Linked DNA regions of Homo sapiens: region 2 is linked to region 1. The links are contacts of gene promoters, found by promoter capture Hi-C in human tissues and cell types (Jung and others, 2019). All regions are on one chromosome and are shown on one strand. The core of a region is centred on a gene start or on the middle of the fragment in contact, and the rest is flanking DNA. Distances in the headings are between cores, read along the strand shown.

Region 1 (3,123 bases), core at 238-2,737:
AACATAGGCTTTCATGGCACCAACTACAAACAAGACTGACTGATGAGATTGTGGCCATGTCTCTCCCAAGTGCTCCTGACCTGGTTCCTGAAAATGTTCACCTCAACCTCGAACTCAGCATTTCCTGTGCTGGTTTTCAACTTGACATTGGTGAATTTCTTCAGTAACATCTCTAGGTCGGCTGCTAAGTTTTAATTCTCATAGGAGGATTAGGATACTTTCTCCCATTTTCTTCAGTTTGCAACTTTTTTTCTTTTGAGATTTGGAAAGCCACATAAATTCCCTGAGAAATGCTGGGAAGAAATCCCTGCACAGAAACACTAACAATGAGGACAGTGAGGCTGGAACCAGGTTTACCAGGGGAAAGCAGTAGGTAGGAGTGGAGGTCAGAGAGCCAACAGAAAGCCTTATCATTTAGAGATGATGTCAGTATGAACCTGAATGGAAGCACTGAAGTTGTGACGAATGTTTGGATTCTGAATATATTTTGAATGTTGAGCTGATAGGACAAATAGATTGTAGAGTGAGAGAGGAAGAAGAATTGAGGATGACTCCAAGGTTTTTGGTCTAGGCATGGCAGGCTGAAATTACCATTTGCTGAGATGGATAGAAAGTGGGTGGGGGACTCTGGAGAAGTTGTTTTTTCCCGTGTTAAGTTTGAGATGCTTACACATCTAAGTGGATATGCCAAATAGGCAGTTAGGTAAAGGAGTCTGGAGTTCAGGGAAGTCTGGGCTGGTGATAAGATGCAGGATTCAGGAGCATAGGGATGGCATTTATAGCCAGGTTTTTATACCCAGCACTCGCCTAGACTGCAGCTGTGTTCTTTCGGCAACTCAGCCTACGACTATTTGCTTCGCTGAAAAAAAACCACATCGTACCTAGTTAAAACAATGAGGACAAAGGGGCCATGAATGTGAAAATGCCCTGTAAACGGTAATGTGCTGTTCAGACTGGAAAGCAGGAGAAATGATGGCAATGGAGGTGAGGAAAATCAGTTTGTGGACGTAGGGAAATAATTTTCGTGCACTGAGAATTAGAGAAACTACGAAATGAAAGAAGGTGCAAAAAGCAATTATAACTCTTTTTGGACTGTAGCCGAATCTGTGCAAAACTCATATTTTTAAAATTTCCATAGCACCCCAAATTTACTAGAGCTTCACATACATGGTCTTTTTGAGCTGCACAAGTCTTGTAAGAAGGGAATTATTATTGTTCCCATTTTACGGAGGAGGAAACTGTGCTCGGAGAGGATAACTGACCTGTAAGGCATCACAGCAATATGAGGGACAGAGATACACAAGCATCCAGACGTCCGCGTTCCGAATCCAACCTAAAGACGAAAAATCGCTCCCAACCCCCACCGTCGGCAGCGAAGACGGAAGGACACACGCCGGCCGTCCCAGCTCGCAGGGCTCCAACAGCCGCCGGCCCCGGTCCCATTTCCGGATGGTACAGCCCTTTCCGCTATCGCGAGACCGGAAGCATCGCGCATCTGGTTGCCAGGGAAACAGCGGTCCCACAGGCAGGAGGGATCTGGACCGGCGGCTTCTTCCACTACCAGAGAGGCTGAGGTGGCGGGAGAGACCCCTCTCCTCTGGGGGTAAGTGGCTGGCGCGGCGAGTGTCTGCGGCGCGCTTCTGCGGCCATCTGCGCCCTGACTGACGGCGGCCAGTTCCTCGAGGAGGCCCGGCGGGAAGGTGAGGGGCCGCGCAGATGAGGGCGGAGCTCGGTCGCGGGGCGGTGCGCCGAGGAGTGGGCGGGGCGGAGCTGCGTCGGGCCGCTTGGCATGTAGATGGACTGTCAGGGAGAGCGGACAGGGCCAATGAGAGGGCGGGGGCGGGCTCATTGGGGGCGGGGCCCCAGCGGCTTCTGCCTCCGCGGAGGCTATTTCTCCAGGAATCACCTAACATTAGGACCTGTAACCAAGGCTTCTACTTTCCCGAGATTTGGATCTTCCCACCAAGATCTAGAACTGATCACCAGCCATTTAAACTAGACCGTAAACGGCAAAGGATGCAAATAGGCATTTCACAGGAAAAATAAAAAGATGCAAACAGCAAACAATTGATTAGAGACTCAACTTTTCTCGTGAAGAAATGTAAACCAAATTCACAGATACCTTTTACACCTATGAGACTGGAGAAGATGAAACAGCTTTGACATAACCAGATGGGCCCCAGCCCAGTGTAGGGGAAGTAGTGTAATTTGGTGCAGCCTTTTTGGAGTACAATTTGGCGAACTACCAAAATTTGAAACATAAGTGTTCTTTGACTCAGCAATTCTAATATATTTTATGGATGTATGAGCATAACTAAAGAAAGATTGGCACAAATATATTAACTTAAAATTGAGGTATAACTTACTTATGGTAAGCCTCACCCATTTAATCTACAGTTCTGTGAGTTTTGACAAATGTATACAGTTATGTAATTACCAACCACCACAATCAGCATACGGAAGTTTCATCATGAACCCCAAATTCCCTAGTGCTCTTTGTATTTAATCCCTCCCCTAACGCCATCCCTGGCAACAACTTCCTAGTTTTTTGTTCCTGTAATTTTGCCTATTCCAGAATGTCATATTGATGGAAGCAAACACCCTGTGGCCTTTTGAATCAGGCTTCTTTCAGCTTAGCATCATGCAGTTGCTATTCATTCATGTTCTGTGTATCAGTTGTTCCTTTATGTTGCTGAGTAATAGTCCATTGTATGGATCTACGGTAGTATATTTATCCATTTCCTACTTGAGGCATATTTGGATGAGTTCTTTCCAGTTGTTGGCTATTATTGATGAAGCTGGTATAAATATTCATGTACAGGTTTTTTTTTGTGTGTGTGAATATGTTTTCATTTCTTGGGTAAATATGAATGAGATTGTGGAGTCATATGGTAAATATATGTTTAACTTTATAAGAAACTGCTAAGCAGTTTTGAAAAGTGATGATTTTGCATTGTCATTGGCAATATGAGTGTTACAGTTGCTCTCCAACTTTGTCAGCACTTGGTATTGTCAGTTTTCTAAAAAATTAATTTTTGTCATTTGAATAGGTGTGTAGTGGTATCTCATTGTGATTTTTATTTTATTTTTTTGAGGGGTAATGATGTTGAACATCTTTTCATG
Region 2 (3,155 bases), core at 591-3,090, 350 kb after region 1:
GTAAGTATTACCCCTTTCAAGTGGGTTAAAATGTCTGGAATGGAGATTATTAAAGCTAACTTTCCTGGTTATACCTTTTTTTTTTTTTTTTTTAAACTCTTTCAACTTCAGTATCTTGGAAAGTTGAGCCTATCATATCACCAGGAGGATTGAGAGTTTAAACAACAATTACAAATTACGTGGAAAGTTGGAAAAAGAAGAGAGTTCCCTCTATTCTTCCCTGGCATCTCTGGGTGGCTGTTGTCCATGCTGGAGGAGTTGTCACCTTATGTGCCCTTGAGGGACCTCCCCTCAGGAATCAGCAGTGGGATAACCTTGCAGGTGTTTTTTGTTTTTTCCCAGAAATAAGAGACGTAAGCAAGGTTTAAATTCATAGCCAAGTAACATAATTTGCTGTCAAATTTAATGAGAAAAATTTAAAAATTAAAGCCACATCTAATTTTTAAAATACATGATTATGTACTGAGCTCTTTCAACACAGAATCTTACATAGGTCTTCTTTCCTTTTACAATGATCCTTGTAAGGTAAGTCACACAACTGTTTATTTTACAGAAAGGAATCTGAGGCTCAAAGAAATTAAGTCTCTGGCTCAAGATCATAACTAGTAAGTGGCAGAACCGGGATTTGACAGGTGTTTTGATTTTAGGTCCAATGATCTCTTTGTTACACTCACTTCCTCACCTGTGGGCTGTGAGGGACTTTGTTGCTTAAATAAGCTAGGGCTCCAAGAACCCAAGCTTCTAGGATAAATAATAACCCAACCAATGCAGGGTGTCCACTATGATTCACCGTGGCGTCCTTACGTATTTTGGAAGACAGCAGTATTTGAAGGATAAGATTTTTTTTTTTCCTCTAGGATCCTCTAGGAAGGCAACTCAGGTCCTATAAAGAAGCTGCTGATTTTCACCCAGTGGCTGGGAATTTGATGGGTCCCCCTAAGATCTGCAAAGGGATGAAACTGGAACTTATTCTCCAGTTCTATGTCTAGGGTGGGTGGAGATCGATATTTTGGGAGAAAAATGGGAGCATAATGTAGAGGAGAGCCCCTGAAGGTTTGGGTTCCTTGTGCTGAGACCTAACATCCTACAACATCTCCTTTGCAACTGGGAGTGCTTTGGAATGTTTAAAAACACGTGCTTGAGTTGAGCAGTGGAGGCTCAGAGGACACTCTTGCATGAGGTGGAAAGGCTCAAAGTCCTGGCCTTCCTTCTCCTTGTCTCTTGACCTTGCTTCAGGGGGAGAGATGGTGAAGTGGAATGATAATGGATCTTGGGCATCAGACCCAGGTTCAAATTTGTGTTCTACTATTTTTAGGCTGTGTAGTCTGGACTTCAGTTTTCCTATTTGTCAAGTGAAGCTTAATAGTACCTCCTAAGAGGATTTCCCTGGGGATTGCATGAGCGAATAAGGGTTCCACATACTCTATGTCAGAGCCAGTGCTCAAACGTTGGTCCTCACATCCTGCACAGAGGACCTCTTCATATGTGATTATTTGTTTTATTTTACTGTCATTTATTATTTGTTTATCGTGTGCTCCCCCATTAGAATGTAAGCCCTAGAAGGAGTTATATAATATTGTTTGTTGAATAAATGATATTACTTTGAATACATAATACTCTAAGAAGTTCCAGGCACTGTAACAGTTCCAGCAACAGTTCCAGGCACTGTTCCAGTGCCCAGAACATGGTAGATTTGAATAAATAATATTACTGCAATACATGCATATGTCAATGTTAAAGTGGAGAGATAGAAGCACTCAGGAAGCATAAAGAAAATTCAGCCTCTTAAAATCTGGGACACCTTGAAACCATGAGTGGCTCAGAAAGAGCCAGCAGTCTCTGGCTATTGCTGGCTTTGCTGGGCTGCCCCCCTAGAGGCGTGAGGTTAGGATATTGTGTAACGACAAATGACACAGAGGGGACTGTCTGTTCTGGCTTCTTATCTAGAAGCCCTGCACCTCTATAACCCCAGGGCTGTTCTTGGAGCTGTGGCTCAGAGAGTCAGGCTGACAGCACAAGGACAGGGAAAAAGGTCCTATTCTGACATTCAGAGGATCTGTCTTTTCTCTCCTGGGTCTCCAGGACCCTATCCTTCTGAGCTAGATGCACCTACGTTTTGAAAATGAAGATGGGTAGCTGTGCTGAAGCTCTTGTCAGCATGCAATTGAGATACTCTTTGGCCAAAGCAGAAATTGGTTGGAATTCTGGCATCCTTGGCTTAGAAAAGAGCCTGAGCAGGTAGATTTTTCTGCTTGTGTTAGCTTATGAGAAAGCCCAGAGTCTCTGCATGAGCTTCTAAAATGCCTAATACTTCTTACACAATTCAAGTTGGACGGCAAGTGTCAGTGATGCAGCACCTTCAGACAGCATTTCCCAGAAAGTATGCTACAGATACCATGTCTTTGTCAAAGGCGGCGGCACGTGTGCAGCTGTGATGACAAATGCAGCGGGTGTTGCTAGTTGCGGAAACACAGCTAGGGGTTTGGTTAACCACAGGAAAGCTGGGGTGAGGGGCAGTCCCTCCGTTCTTGTATTCTCTCCCTAGATGATTCAGGGTGGTCCCTAGTTCAGCCTCAGACACGAGACCCAGATCACTGCAGGCTGTCTGTTGCCAAGCGACGGGAACCATTTGGCACCAGCCGTAGAGAGCAACCAGAATGGGCAGAGCAGAGACTTAGAGCCCAGAGGACTGGAAGACGCTGCCACAGCCGCACGCACTCTAGCCTGATGCTACAGGTCTGTCACTGATGATACTAAAAGTTACGCGGTTGACAGATGCTATTTACAGCCAGAACTGAACAAACTCAAACACAATTCTATGTCGAACAGTCAGGGAAAATAAAGTTAAAACACCAGCAATTCCCATGCCATATCATTTATACATATCTTTGTGTTTGGAATTCACTTCTGAAATTCACTTCCTCTTGTGGGCTGGCTGGTGTAAGACATAAAAGTGAGCTCTGGGTCACTTTGGTCTTTTTTGATTCAATTTGAGCACCTTCCACCCCATGATTGTCCTAGGCATTGGAGAGAAGGTCTGTGCCCCTCTATCAGATGGTGAGTTCCCTGAGGACAAGAGCCTTATGAATTCATTGGCGATGTCTCCCCAGTCCATCCCATCCCACACACACAGTGCCTAGTGCACCACTTTGGGC

Evidence for each region. The method cuts DNA at HindIII sites, captures the fragments that hold promoters and counts their contacts. A contact is called where the count stands out against the background at its distance.
Region 2: a fragment that was not itself captured here is called in contact with the fragment with the promoter of FSIP1 in region 1 in 1 of the 25 tissues and cell types used here (lymphoblastoid cells).

What each region holds. Positions count from the first base shown.
Region 1 is chr15:39,781,205-39,784,327 of GRCh38, reverse strand. FSIP1 (fibrous sheath interacting protein 1) reads left to right here and starts at 1,487. Exons shown (of 12, transcript NM_152597.5): 1 at 1,487-1,700. It overlaps LOC105370941 (a long non-coding RNA gene), which reads right to left and starts at 1,422. Exons shown (of 1, transcript NR_135665.1): 1 at 1-1,422. RefSeq lists an enhancer at 1,248-1,377 and a silencer at 1,678-1,857. The HindIII fragment of the contact is 15,521 bases long and covers 1-3,123 here.
Region 2 is chr15:39,426,679-39,429,833 of GRCh38, reverse strand. No RefSeq gene overlaps it. Among named protein-coding and RNA genes, the nearest start is that of THBS1, 150 kb to the left of the region's middle. The HindIII fragment of the contact is 3,298 bases long and covers 192-3,155 here.